Linked DNA regions of Homo sapiens: regions 1 and 3 are each linked to region 2. The links are contacts of gene promoters, found by promoter capture Hi-C in blood cells and fetal thymus (Javierre and others, 2016). All regions are on one chromosome and are shown on one strand. Each heading gives the region's core, a stretch centred on a gene start or on the middle of the fragment in contact. The rest is flanking DNA. Distances are from core to core; before and after follow the strand shown. Region 1 has its middle 5.2 kb from the start of SMIM10. Region 2 holds the start of HPRT1 (hypoxanthine phosphoribosyltransferase 1). Region 3 has its middle 9.9 kb from the start of RTL8C.

Region 1 (4,991 bases), core at 55-2,554, 520 kb after region 2:
TCCAAGTCCCTGAACCATATGGTATAGAGCCATACCTTAGGCCACTTCTCCTTCCAAGCAAAGTGAACAACCAGATATACCACTTGAAATTATGTTCTCAGAAAAGACTCTTCTTCAGTGACCTTCCGGGCTACCCCTGTGTGGGGCTGTGATCTACAACAATGTGCTCTGGCTGGTGCCCTTAGGTCATGCAGAAATGTGCTAAAATAGGTTTAGATGTTCTACTCTTCAAATAGCTGGTTATACAGAGGTCCCTGTATTAGTTTGCTAGGGCTGCCATAACAAAGTACCACAGACAGGTGACTTAAACAACAGAAATGTATTTCCTTACAGTTCTGGAGGCTAGAAGTTCAAGATCAAGCTGTCAGCTGAATTGGTTTCTTTTTGCTACAATTTGAATGTTTGTGTTCCCTCCAGAATTAATGTTGAAACTTAATCCCCAATGCAAGAGTATTAAGAGGTAAGGCCTTTAGGAGGTGATTAGGCCACGAGAGCTCTGCTGTCATGGATGGGATCAGTGCCTTGTGAAAGGGCTGAGGGAACTAGCTAGGCCCTTTTGCCCTTCTGTCCCTTTTGCCATGTGAGGAAACAGTGTTCGAGGTGCCGTCTTGGAAGCAGACACCAGGCCCTTACTAGACAACGAACTTGCTGTCAACTTGATCTTGGACTTCCCAGGCTCCAGAACTGTGAGAAATAAATTTCTATTATTTTTAAATTACTCAGTCTAAGGTATTTTGTCATAGTGGCAGGAATGGACTGAGTCACTTCTGAAGGCCTCTATTCTTGGGCTTATTGGTGGCCGTCTTCTCCATGTGTCTTGACATGGTATTCCCTATGTGTGTGTTTGTGTCCTAATCCCTTCTTCTTAGAAGAACATCAGTGATGTTGGATTAGGGTCCACCCTAATGACCTCATTTAACCTTAGTTACTTCTTTAAAAACCCTATCTCCAAATATAGTCGCATTCTGTGATTCTGGGGGTTAGGGCTTCAACATATGAATCTGGCACGGACACAACTCAGCCCAAAGCAGTCCCCATGAAACTGTAAGTGTGGGTTGCGAAAGAGAAGGCAGTGTGGCAGGTGTGAACACACTGGAAGTGTGAGCCACTGCTTAGGTACCTTTGTTGTGCCTCCAGAACCTGTTCAAGGCCAATCCATATATACCACTTCTAATTTAAGCTTCCTCTGTATTCTTCTCTAGTGAAACAGGTTCATCAAAAAGGAATGTAATAGGGATCACTACTCCTTAATTTTCTGAGTCTTGATGATGGCCCTAATTTCTGTCAGTTTCCTTTGCATGTACTATTGATTTTGGTTTACTATTTTGACAGTGTAGCACAGTGGTTGAGAGCATGAACTCTGAAGCTAGTTTCTGGTTTACATTCCAGTTCTACCAATTACTAAGTAGTGACCTCGGGCAAGTTACTTAAGCTTTTAATGCCTTAATTTCCTTTTCTGTAAAATGTGTACAATTATAGTACCTACCTTGTAGTGCTGTTTTGAGGAATAATATGTTAACATATGGAAAGTGCTTGAAAGAGTGTCTGGCATGTAATAAGTGCTATGCATGTGTTTGCTATCACTGCTATAATTGGAAGGGAGAGTAAGTTCCAGGCTTCCACCTGGCCCTTCCTATCATAAAGATTCTCACTCTGCAGGTCAGGAAGCCAATTGAGCTGTTTTGCCAGTTGCTAGTTTTATTGATTACAACTGTAAATCCAGCAACTGGGGAAATCACCAGAGTGGATTTATAGACCCACTGAGCCCACCATGAGTTGAATTTAGGCCAAAACTCCAATTATCATTTGATCTTCACAAGCCCTCACTCTGACTGTGGGCAACAGTGTTGTTCCGAGTTCCCAGGATTAGTGGCAGCTCAGAGCTATTGTCCCATAATCCCCGAAGAGTGCGTGTATTTGAACATTTACCTTGGTAAATTGCTGCAGACCTCTTCTGGGGATAGCTGGGAATATTTATAGTACATAATTGCAATGTTGCCATAGCATCCTTCCTCAAGGTACTCAGTCTCCCTTTTATTCTAGGGAATCTGGGTATATGAACTGAGGAGCTGTGACACTCTATCATGGTGACCCAACTTTCTGTTTGCCAAAATTCCTTTGGTTAAGCAGATCAAGTCTGTATATCAGTCCTAGGGTTCCTATGATTAATTAATTGCATGACAGATCACTGTGGGTCAAGCCATTTTGATTGTCATTCAGTAGCTCTATTCTGGGACATGGTTATCAGTTAGTTTTTGCTGTGAAACAAACCACCGAAAGCTTACACAACCACCATTTATTTAGTTAACGATTGTTGGGGGTTGACAATTTGGGCTGGGCTCAGCTGGGCTAGTCTTCTGCTTGCATCAGCTGAACTCACTCATATGTCTGTGGTCTGCTGCTGTTGGTTTCAGTGACACTACTTCTAGGGATTGGTTGGCCATGAGTTGGGCCAAAAGGGATGGTTGGAGCATGTATCTCTCGACATCTGGTTTGTTTGCATGATAGCAGCAGGTTTCCAAGACTAGCAAGCCCCAATGCAAAAGCACTTTTCCAGCTTTTGCGTGCACCATTTTAGCCAATGTCCCATTGACCAAAGCAAGTCACACAGCAGATTCAAGAGAAAAGAAATAGATCCAAATAGTTCTTCAAATAATCATCTGATTTTATGTGATCCTCCCACTTCCACTCTCTGTACCTGGAGAGCAGAGGGTGCTTCTTCCATGAAAATGGCTTCCACCTATGCTGCAGCCTTTTCCTGAGAATCATTGGTGCAGTATACTCTGATTTATTTTTCAGTTTGATCCACTCAGCATTCATTTCAGGAAGCTATCAAAGTCTTTGCTCTGCCATCCTCACCCTCTCCACTGCTTTTATGAATGAATTTATACTTCTTTATAATTGTTTCTATTTGTTTTGGGAAGGTAAATACCTGTGTTCAATTGAGTATCTTGCACCACAACAACCTCAGATTACATTTTAATCTACTATCTATAGATCAATGGTAGCAGTGCAAAAAATTATACGTATATGTACTATATTCTTCCTATATGTACATGTATATGTATGTATATATGTACACACATACATAAGCATATGTAAATAACATATATATGTGTGTGTATATATACATATATATATATATATAGAGAGAGAGAGAGAGAGAGAGAGAGAAGCTTGCTCTGTCACCGAGCCTGGAGTGCAGTGGTGAGATCATAGCTCACTGCAGCCTTGATCTCCTAAGCTCAAACAATCCTACCGCCTCAGTCTCTTGAGTAGCTGGGACTACTACAAGCATGTGCCACCACGAGTGGCTGATTTATTTATTTATTTTCTTTCTTTCTTTCTTTCTTTCTTTCTTTCTTTCTTTCTTTCTTTCTTTCTTTCTTTCTTTCTTTTTTCTTCCTTCCTTCCTTCCTTCCTTCCTTCCTTCCTTCCTTCCTTCCTTCCTTCCTTCCTTTCTTTCTTTCTTTCTTTCTCTTTCTTTCTTTTTTGAAATAGAGACAAAGTCTCCCTATGTTGCCCAAGCTGGTTCTGGACTCCTGAGCTCACACAACTCTCCTGTATCGGCCTCCCAAAGTGCTGGGATTACAAGCGTGAACCACCATGCCTGGCCTCTTCCCGTATATATAGAGTGAGTGGTTCAGACAAAAGAATCAAGGCATATGCACTCTACCGTGAGAAAGAAGAGCAAAAGATGACTTGTATAATTTTCCAAAGAGAAGAACTTTGACCTAATTCTACTGTTTCATATTTGGTGTCTAGCATGAGAGAGAAGGGTGCATTTCCTTTGCTTAATGCATTACTTTAGGCCATTTTGACCACTCTATTTCTCTCCCAGGGCTCTGGTTGGGATTTTATCAATTTTAGGCTGCTTGTGCTGTTCTGTCTGCCTTAGGCAAACTTTTTTTTTTTTTTTTTTTTGAGACGGAGTCTCGCTCTGTCGCCCAGGCTGGAGTGCAGTGGTGTGATCTCGGCTCACTGCAAGCTCCGCCTCCTGGGTTCACGCCATTCTCCTGCCTCAGCCTCCCGAGTAGCTGGGACTACAGGTGCCTGCCACCATGCCCGGCTAATTTTTTTGTATTTTTAGTACAGACGGGGTTTCACCATGTTAGCCAGGATGGTCTCAATCGCCTGACCTCGTGATCCACCCGCCTCGGCCTCCCAAAGTGCTGGGATTACAGGCATGAGCCACAGCGCCCGGCCTAGGCAAACATTTTAATATAGAAATGAGCAAAGGGGCCAAGGCCTAGGCAATATGAGGGGCAGGGAGATATGAAAAGGCAAGGAGAAGGCTGCCTAGCCCTCTTCCTTGCTGTCACAGCCACCGCCCCTGGGGTTTCCACAGCCTAGTTGTAAGCCTTCTGCGTAGCCACCAGTCATCCCACCCATCTGGCTCTCCTTCCTTTTGACGCCACTACAAATGACCAATAAGCATAATATTAATCCACAGCAGTAATCAAATATAGGTAAATTCAAAATAACTAGGGCCGGGCGTGGTGGCTCACGTCTGTAATCCCAGCACTTTGGGAGGCCAAGGTGGGCAGATCACCTGAGGTCAGGAGTTTGAGACGAGTCTGGACAATATAGTGAAACCACGTCTCTACTAAAAATACAAAAATTAGCCGGGTGTGGTGGCACATGCCTGTAATCTCAGCTACTTGGGAGGCTGAGGCAGGAGAATCGCTTGAACCTGGGAGGCCGAGCTTGCAGTGAGCCAAGATTGCACCACTGCACTCCAGCCTGGGCAACATAGCGAGACTCCATCTCAAATAATAATAATAATAATAATTAGAAAGATTATTTTATTTTACATTATGATATTAAAATAATACATAATAATATGGGTGAGGGTGTGGAGAAATGAACAGCTTTGTAAATTGCCTGAGGGAGTGGGAATTGTTATAACTTTTTCATTTAATTTATTTTTTTTGAGACAAGGTCTTGCTCTGTTGCCCAGCCTGGGGTGCAGTGGCACAATCACGCCTCAC
Region 2 (4,361 bases), core at 1,108-3,607:
TTCATAGTAGCATTATTTCTAATAGCCCAAACCTGGAAACTGCCCAAATGTCCATCAACAGGGGAATGGATAAGAAGTCTTAGAGGCAGGCTGGGCGTGGTGGCTCACATCTGTAATCTCACCACTTTGGGAAGCCAAAATGGGCGGATCACCTGGGGTCAGGAGTTCAAGACCAGCCTGGCCAACATGGTGAAACCCCATTTTCTACTAAAAATACAAACATTAGCCAGGTCTGGTGTCACACGCCTGTAGTCCCAGCTACTCGGGAAGCTGAGGCAGGAGAATTGCTTGAACCCGGGAGGCAGAGGTTGCAGTGAGCTGAGATCATTCAACTGCACTCCAGCAGAGCAGCAGAGCGAGACTCTGTCTCAAAAAAAAAAAAAAAAGTCTTAGAGGCTAGAAGAAAGTGAACTGTTTAAGGCAAAATTATTATGGAACACGTAACATTGGTATCATCATGTATTGAGCCAAGCTCTATGCTAGGCACTTTTGCATATATTATTTTGTTTAATCTTCACCACACTCTGTGACAGAGATATTAACCTCATTTGACGTATAAGAAACCAAGCACGCAGGGACCAAGGATCTTGCCCAAAGTCAAAATGCTATAATAGTGGGGAACCCAGGATTTGAACTCAGTCCAAAGCCCATACATCCCTTTTCCATTACAGCCTGCTGCCTCTCCAGGATAAAGAGGGAAGACAGGGAAAGTAGGGAAGTATGGACTTCACAAATTCATACATGCTAAAATTATAACAGCTACTGTTTCTTGAGCACCTATTATGTGGCAAATACTATATGAGGTACTTTACATAAATGATTTTTAGAATTCTCGTAAAACTCTTCATGGCAGTAGTTATTATTCTCTCTCTCTCTCTTTTTCTTTTTTCTTGAGACAGGATATTTCTCTGTTGCCCAGGCTGGAGTGCAGTGGCACAGTCTTGGCTCACTGCAGCCTGGACCTCCTGGGCTCAAGCCATCCTCCCACCTCAGCCTCCCAAGTAGCTGGGGCTACAGGCACATGGCCACCAGGCCCAGATAATTTTTCATTTTTGTAGAGACTGAGTCTCACCATGTTACCCAGGTTTATTATTCTCATTTTTTAGATGAAGAGACTGAGGTCCAGAGAAGCTCAATGACTTGCCTAGTTTTACAAATCTCCTGCCATCACATACCCCTCAGCGTCCTTAATAAGAGGGAGGCCACCAACTATGTGCTGGGCACTGTGGTGGATGCTGGAGCTATAGGGTTGAGTATATAAGAAATGGTGTTGCTGGAGCAACTGTTGCTTGCTTACCTGACCTATCTGAGAATTAATTAGCAGGGGAACATATTTTTGTTTTCAGATTCAATATAAGAACTTGTGTGGGCAAAAATAAAGATCAGTAGTAATAACAGTAGTTCCCATTTGCTGACTGTACTGTCCTAAGTGCATATATATATACATACACACACGCATACCTATACTCCTCTAATACTCAAAATGATCCTGTTTATGTATTGTTAATATGCTCATTTTATTTTTAAATTTTTATTTATTTTTATTTTTATTTATTTTTGAGACGGAGTCTCATTCTGTCGCGGAGGCTGAAGTGCAGTGGTGCGATCTCAGCTCAGTGCGACCTCCGCCTCCCGGGTTCAAGTGATTCTCCTGCCTCAGCCTCCGGACTAGCTGGGATTACAGGCGCCCGCCTCCACGCCCAGCTAATTTTTGTATTTTTAGTAGAGATGGGGTTTCGCCATGTTGGCCAGGCTGGTCTCGTACTCCTGACCTTGAGTGATCCACCTGCCTCGGCCTCCCAAAGTGCTGGGATTACAGGCATGAGCCACCGCGCCGGGCTAATATGCTCATTTTAGTGAGGCAAAAATAGAGGCTCAGAGTCTGATTTGTACAAAACTACAGAGCAGTTAAGTGTCCTCTCAGATGTGTACCCTGATCTGGGTGACTCTAGGACTCTAGGTCTCAACTGTTACAACCAGTTAAGGGTTTGGGGAAGCACTGGGCCAAGAGTCAGGAAAATGGAAGCCACAGGTAGTGCAAGGTCTTGGGAATGGGACGTCTGGTCCAAGGATTCACGCGATGACTGGAACCCGAAGAGCCGGGGCCCGGTTTACGGCCGCCATGAAGCAACGCGCGCCGGTAGGTTTGGGAATCAGGGAGCCCTCTGAATAGGAGACTGAGTTGGGAGGGAAAGGGGCTTCGCTGGGGGAGCCTCGGCTTCTTCTGGGAGAAAATTCCCACGGCTACCTAGTGAGCCTGCAAACTGGTAGGCGCCGGCGTAGGCGCGCGGGCGGGGCCGGGGGCGGGGCCTGCGGGGCGTGGCGGGGCGGGCAGAGGGCGGGGCCTGCTTCTCCTCAGCTTCAGGCGGCTGCGACGAGCCCTCAGGCGAACCTCTCGGCTTTCCCGCGCGGCGCCGCCTCTTGCTGCGCCTCCGCCTCCTCCTCTGCTCCGCCACCGGCTTCCTCCTCCTGAGCAGTCAGCCCGCGCGCCGGCCGGCTCCGTTATGGCGACCCGCAGCCCTGGCGTCGTGGTGAGCAGCTCGGCCTGCCGGCCCTGGCCGGTTCAGGCCCACGCGGCAGGTGGCGGCCGGGCCCTGAGGCGCGGGATCCGCAGTGCGGGCTCGGGCGGCCGGGCCCAGGGAACCCCGCAGGCGGGGGCGGCCAGTTTCCCGGGTTCGGCTTTACGTCACGCGAGGGCGGCAGGGAGGACGGAATGGCGGGGTTTGGGGTGGGTCCCTCCTCGGGGGAGCCCTGGGAAAAGAGGACTGCGTGTGGGAAGAGAAGGTGGAAATGGCGTTTTGGTTGACATGTGCCGCCTGCGAGCGTGCTGCGGGGAGGGGCCGAGGGCAGATTCGGGAATGATGGCGCGGGGTGGGGGCGTGGGGGCTTTCTCGGGAGAGGCCCTTCCCTGGAAGTTTGGGGTGCGATGGTGAGGTTCTCGGGGCACCTCTGGAGGGGCCTCGGCACGGAAAGCGACCACCTGGGAGGGCGTGTGGGGACCAGGTTTTGCCTTTAGTTTTGCACACACTGTAGTTCATCTTTATGGAGATGCTCATGGCCTCATTGAAGCCCCACTACAGCTCTGGTAGCGGTAACCATGCGTATTTGACACACGAAGGAACTAGGGAAAAGGCATTAGGTCATTTCAAGCCGAAATTCACATGTGCTAGAATCCAGATTCCATGCTGACCGATGCCCCAGGATATAGAAAATGAGAATCTGGTCCTTACCTTCAAGAACATTCTTAACCGTAATCAGCCTCTGGTATCTTAGCTCCACCCTCACTGGTTTTTTCTTGTTTGTTGAACCGGCCAAGCTGCTGGCCTCCCTCCTCAACCGTTCTGATCATGCTTGCTAAAATAGTCAAAACCCCGGCCAGTTAAATATGCTTTAGCCTGCTTTATTATGATTATTTTTGTTGTTTTGGCAATGACCTGGTTACCTGTTGTTTCTCCCACTAAAACTTTTTAAGGGCAGGAATCACCGCCGTAACTCTAGCACTTAGCACAGTACTTGGCTTGTAAGAGGTCCTCGATGATGGTTTGTTGAATGAATACATTAAATAATTAACCACTTGAACCCTAAGAAAGAAGCGATTCTATTTCATATTAGGCATTGTAATGACTTAAGGTAAAGAGCAGTGCTATTAACGGAGTCTAACTGGGAATCCAGCTTGTTTGGGCTATTTACTAGTTGTGTGGCTGTGGGCAACTTACTTCACCTCTCTGGGCTTAAGTCATTTTATGTATATCTGAGGTGCTGGCTACCTCTTGGAGTTATTGAGAGGATTATAAGACAGTCTATGTGAATCAGCAACCCTTGCATGGCCCCTGGCGGGGAACAGTAATAATAGCCATCATCATGTTTACTTACATAGTCCTAATTAGTCTTCAAAACAGCCCTGTAGCAATGGTATGATTATTACCATTTTACAGATGAGGAACCTTTGAAGCCTCAGAGAGGCTAACAGACATACCCTAGGTCATACAGTTATTAAGAGAAGGAGCTCTGTCTCGAACCTAGCTCTCTCTCTCTCGAGTAATACCAGTTAAAAAATAGGCTACAAATAGGTACTCAAAAAAATGGTAGTGGCTGTTGTTTTTATTCAGTTGCTGAGGAAAAAATGTTGATTTTTCATCTCTAAACATCAACTTACTTAATTCTGCCAATTTCTTTTTTTTGAGACAGGGTCTCACTCTGTCACCTAGGATGGAGTGCAGTGGCACAATCACTGCTCACTGCAGCCTCGACTTCCCGGGCTCGGGTGATTCTCCCCAGGCTCAGGGGATTCTCCCACTTCAGCCTCCCAAGTAGCTGGGACTACAGGTGCGCACCACCATCCCTGGCTAATATTTGTACTT
Region 3 (4,909 bases), core at 586-3,085, 580 kb after region 2:
GTTTGTTTAGATTTAGCCATGTATTTGCCATTTTCTTTGCCAGCATTCCAGACATTTATACTAGTACATTTTCCTTCTTCTAAAGTATATCCTATAGATATACTCCTTTAATAATGGTCTATTAGGGAAACTGTGATGTCTTTCATTTTCTGAAAAGTTATTTTATCCTCATTCTTTTAAAATTATTCTTGTTGAGTCTCTTTGACTTGTGGAACCATTCATATCTCTTTTTTTCTATATAATATTGTATTATGTACCACCAAAACCTTAGTGATGCAATAGTTCTTAAATGACAATTTCACTTTTTTGTCCTAAATTTTTCCCGTTAATCCATCGTCATCAGTTTGGCAAGTTTTGATACAGGTGCTTTTAATGTTTGCATGTAAGCAGGCAGTAACTATTATGTCACAGCAGCCCCTGGGCCAACAACAATTCATAATTTTGATTGATTGTAATAAACACCTTGATATAAGAGATATTAAAAAGTGACAAATTTGAATAGAATTGATGGAAACAGCATTATTCTGTAGTCTTTTAGCTTCCATTTTTGCTATTAAAAAATTATTTGTCAGCCTAATTTTGTGTTTCCTCTTTAGTTGTTTGAAAGATCTCTTTGTGTTTGGTGTTCTGTAACTTTTCTACTGCTTATCTAAATATACAATCCTTTTTCTTTTTCTGATATTAAAAAAACTGAGATATGTTACATCCAGCAAAGGATAAAAATCTTAAGTGTATAACTAGATGAACATTTACATATGTATACATCAGTATAACACCACTCAGATCAATGTATAGAACATTTCCAGCATTCAAAAGGACTCTCATGCCCCCTCTCAGGCAGGAGCCTCTTATGTATAAACATTCTTCTGACCTTTATTACCAAAGATAAACTTTACCTGTTTTTGAACTGCTTGTAAATGAAATTATACAGAATTTATGCTGTATGTCTGTGAGATTCATCTATGTTGTGTGTTTCAAGTGTTCACTCTTATTTATTGAGGTATAAGTTGATAAGTCTGTGGTGATATCTCATTGTGCTAAATTTGCATTTCTAGGCTGAGTGAAGTGGCTGACACCTGCAATCTCAGCACTTTGGGAGGCTGAGGTGGGAGGATTACTTGAGCACAGGAGTTCCAGACCAGCCTGGACAATATAGTGAGACCATATCTCTAAAAAAAAAAAAAAAAAAAAAAAATTAGCTAGGTGTGGTGGTATGCACCTGTAGTCCCAGCTACTCAAGAGGCTGACAGAATCACCTGAGCCTGGGAAGTCCAGGTTGCAGTGAGTTGTGATTGTGCCACTGCACTCCAGCCTGGGTGACAGAGTGAGACCCTGTTTCTAAAAAAAAAATTACATTTCTATTATTACTAATGATAATGCGTGTCTCTTCATATGCTTTTTACCCACTTTGCTACCCTTTTTAATGAAATGCCGATTACTATGGTTGGAATATTTGTCCCCACTAAAACTCATGGTGCAACTTGATATGGTTTGGCTGTGTCCCCCCAACCCAAATCTCATCTTGAATTGTAATCCCCATAATCCCCACATGTTGTGGGAAGGACCCAGCAGGAGGTAACTGAGTTATGGGGGCGGTTTTCCCCATGCTATTCTTATGATAATGAGTGAGTCTCACAAGAGCTGATGGTTTTATAAGCATCTGGCATTTTCTCTGCTGGCTCTCATTCTCTTTTTTTTTTTTTTTTTATTTACCTGCAGATTAAAGTGTTCTTTATTTTTCTGCCTCTCTTTCTTAATTTTTTTTTAAATAATATGGATTGTAGTAAAGAGAAAGAAAAGAAAGAAAAAAGAAGGAAGGAAGGAAAGAAGAAAGAAAAGGAGGAAATGAGAGAAGGGAGGGAGGGAGGAAGGGAGAAAGGCAGGAAAGGAGAAAAAAGAAAGCAAGAACTCAAGAAAGAAAGTGAGAAAAGAAGGAAGGAGGAAGAGAGAATCTGGCTCTCATTCTCTATCCTGCCACCCTGTGAAGAGGTGCCTTCCACTGTGATCCTAAGTTTTCTGAGGCCTCCCCAGAACTGTGAGTCAATTTAACTGTGAGTCAATTAAACCTGTTTTCTTTATAAATTACCCAGTCTTGGGTATTTCTTCACAGCAGCATGAGAACAGACTAACACAACTTAATCCCCAGTGTGGCAATATTGAGAGGTAGGGCCTTTAAGAGGTGATTGGATCATCTCTTAAAGTAAATGGATTAATTCATTCATAGATTAATGGATTAATGGGTTGTTCTGGGAAAGGAACTGGTGGCTTTATAAGAAGAGAAAGGGAAAGGGAAATCTGAGCTTGCAAGTTAGCACACTCAGCTCCTTCACCATGTGATACCCTGCACCATATTGGGACTCTGCAAACAGTCCTCACCAGCAGGAAGGGTCTCATCAGTTGTGACCCCTTGACTTGGACTTCTCTGCCTCCATAACTGTAAGAATACATTATTAAAAAAAAAATTACACTGTTTCAGGTATTCTGTTATAAGCAACAGAAAATTAACTAATACACTCATTCAAAAATCTCACCTATTTTTTATTGGTTTCTCATTTTATTGACTGGTGGCAACTATTTATATGTTCTTTTTTTAAAAAAAATTTTAGTTTCAGGGGTACCTGTGCAGGTTTGTTATATAAATTGCATGTCGCAGGGCTTTGGCATACAGATTATTTTGTTGCCTAGGTAATAAGCCTAGTACCCAATAAGTAGTTTTTCAATCTTCACCCCCATCCCACCCTCCAACTTCAAGTAGGCCCTGGTGTCTATTGTTTCTTTCTTTGTGTTCATGTGCACTCAATGTTTAGCTCCCACTTGTAAGTGAGAACGTGGTATTTGGTTTTCTGTTCCTGCTTTAGTTCACTTAAGATAATGGCCTCCAGCTCATTCCTTATTGTTGCAAAGGACGTGATCTCATTCTTTTTTATGGCTGCCCAGTATTCCATGGTGTATATGTACCACATTTTCTTTATTGAGTCTACCATTGATGAGCATTTAGGTTGATTCCATGTCCTTGCTATTGCTAGTGCTGCAATGAACATATGCATGCATATGTCTTTATGGTAGAACAATTCATATTCCTTTGGGCATGTACCCAATAAAGGGATTGTTGGGTTGAATGGTAGTTCTATTTTAAGTTCTTTGAGAAATTGCCAAACTGCTTTCCACAGTAGCTGAACTAATTTACATTCCCACCAGCAGTGTATAAGTGTTCCCTTTTCTCTGCAACCTTGCAAGCATTCTCTTATTTTTTGACCTTTTAATAATAGCCATTCTGACTGGTGTGGGATGGTATCTCATTGTGGTTTTGATTTGCATTTCTCTAATGATTAGTGATGTTAAGCATTTTTTTCTTATTTATTGGCTGCTTGCATGTCTTCTTTAGAGAGGTGTCTGTTCATGTTGTTTGTCCACTTTTTAATGAGATTTTTTTTTCTCATTGAAATTGTTTAAGTTCCTTGTGGATTCTGGATATTAGACCTTTGTCAGATGCCTAGTTTGCGATTATTTTCTACTATTCTGTAAGTCATCTGTTTATCTGTTGATAGTTTCTTTTGCTGTGCAGAAACTCTTTAGTTTAATTAGGTCCCATTTGTCAATTTTTGCTTTTGTTGCAATTGCTTTTGGTATCTTCATCTTGAAATCTTTGCCAGGACTTATGTTCAGAATGGTATTTCCTAGGTTTTATTCAAGGGGTTTTATAGTTTAAAGTTTTACAGTTAAGTCTTTAATCAATCTTGAGTTGACTTTTGCATATGGTGTAAGGAAGAGGTCCAGTTTCAGTCTTATGCGTATGCTAGCCAGTTATCCCTGCACCATTTATTGAATAGGGATTCCTTTCCTCATTGCTTGTTTTTGTCAACTTTGTCGAAGATTAGATGGTTGTAGTTGTGTGGTTTTCTATCTGGGCTCTGTATTCTGTTACATTGGTCCATGTGTCTGTTTTTGTACCAGTACCATGCTGTTTTGGTTACCGTAGACTTGTCGAATGGTATGAAGTCGGGTAGTGTGATGCCTCCAGCAGTTTTGTCCTTTTTGCTTAGGATTGCTTTGGCTATTCGGGCTCTTTTGTGGTTCCATAGAAATTTTAGAATAGATTTTTCTAGTTCTGTGAAAAATGTCATTGGTAGTTTGATAGGAATAGCATTGAATCTTTAAATTGCTTTGGGCAGTATGGCTATTTTAACAATGTTGATTTTTTTCTGTAGATGAGCATAGAATGTTTTTCCATTTGTTTGTGTCATCTCTGATTTCTTTCAGCAGTATTTTGTAATTCTTGTTGTAGAGATTTTTCACCTTCCTGGATATCTGTATTCCTAGGTATTTTATTTTTTTGTGGCTATCGTGAATGGGATTTCATTCTTTATTTGGCTCTCAGCTTGGATGTTGTTTGTGTATAGAAATGCTACAGATTTCTGTATACTGATTTTGTGTCCTGAAACTTCGCTGAAGTTGTTCATCAGATCCAGGAGCTTTTGGGCAGAGACTTTGGGGTTTTCTAGGTGTAAAATCATAGTGTCTACAAACAAATAGTTTGACTTCCTCTCTTCCTTTTTGGATGCCTTTTATTTCTTTGTTTTGTCTGATTGCTCTTGCTAGGACTTCCTATATTCTTGATGTTCATATCTTCCAGGAAAAGACCACTAGGGACATCTTGTCATTGAACAAATATTGAGTTTATTATTCATTGCAGTGAAGGAGAACATACCATAGAGAACTGTTGGGAATCTCAGCAAAAAGGTGTTAGAAAATGTTTGAAGTGTTTGGGCGTATATTAGGTGATTTTTGAGAAGTTTAAGGAAGTGAAGCTTTGCTCTGGCTTGGATGCTGTCAGGAAGCAGGGCTAATTGTATGCTGAGTGTCTTAATAAACATTTTATCTGGGAGGGCAGACATTATTAGTGTTTTTT

What was found. Contacts are between HindIII fragments. The CHiCAGO score rates a contact against its expected background, and 5 or more counts as called.
Region 1: a fragment that was not itself captured here is called in contact with the fragment with the promoter of HPRT1 in region 2 in 1 of 17 cell types (erythroblasts); the score reaches 5.4 in erythroblasts.
Region 3: a fragment that was not itself captured here is called in contact with the fragment with the promoter of HPRT1 in region 2 in 1 of 17 cell types (neutrophils); the score reaches 6.8 in neutrophils.

The regions. Positions count from the first base shown.
Region 1 is chrX:134,983,309-134,988,299 of GRCh38, forward strand. No RefSeq gene overlaps it. Among named protein-coding and RNA genes, the nearest start is that of SMIM10, 5.2 kb to the right of the region's middle. The HindIII fragment of the contact is 252 bases long and covers 1,179-1,430 here.
Region 2 is chrX:134,457,808-134,462,168 of GRCh38, forward strand. It overlaps HPRT1 (hypoxanthine phosphoribosyltransferase 1), which reads left to right and starts at 2,358. Exons shown (of 9, transcript NM_000194.3): 1 at 2,358-2,531. The coding sequence starts at 2,505. RefSeq lists silencers at 2,230-2,349, 2,450-2,629. The HindIII fragment of the contact is 6,801 bases long and covers 1-4,361 here.
Region 3 is chrX:135,039,782-135,044,690 of GRCh38, forward strand. No RefSeq gene overlaps it. Among named protein-coding and RNA genes, the nearest start is that of RTL8C, 9.9 kb to the left of the region's middle. The HindIII fragment of the contact is 5,942 bases long and covers 1-4,806 here.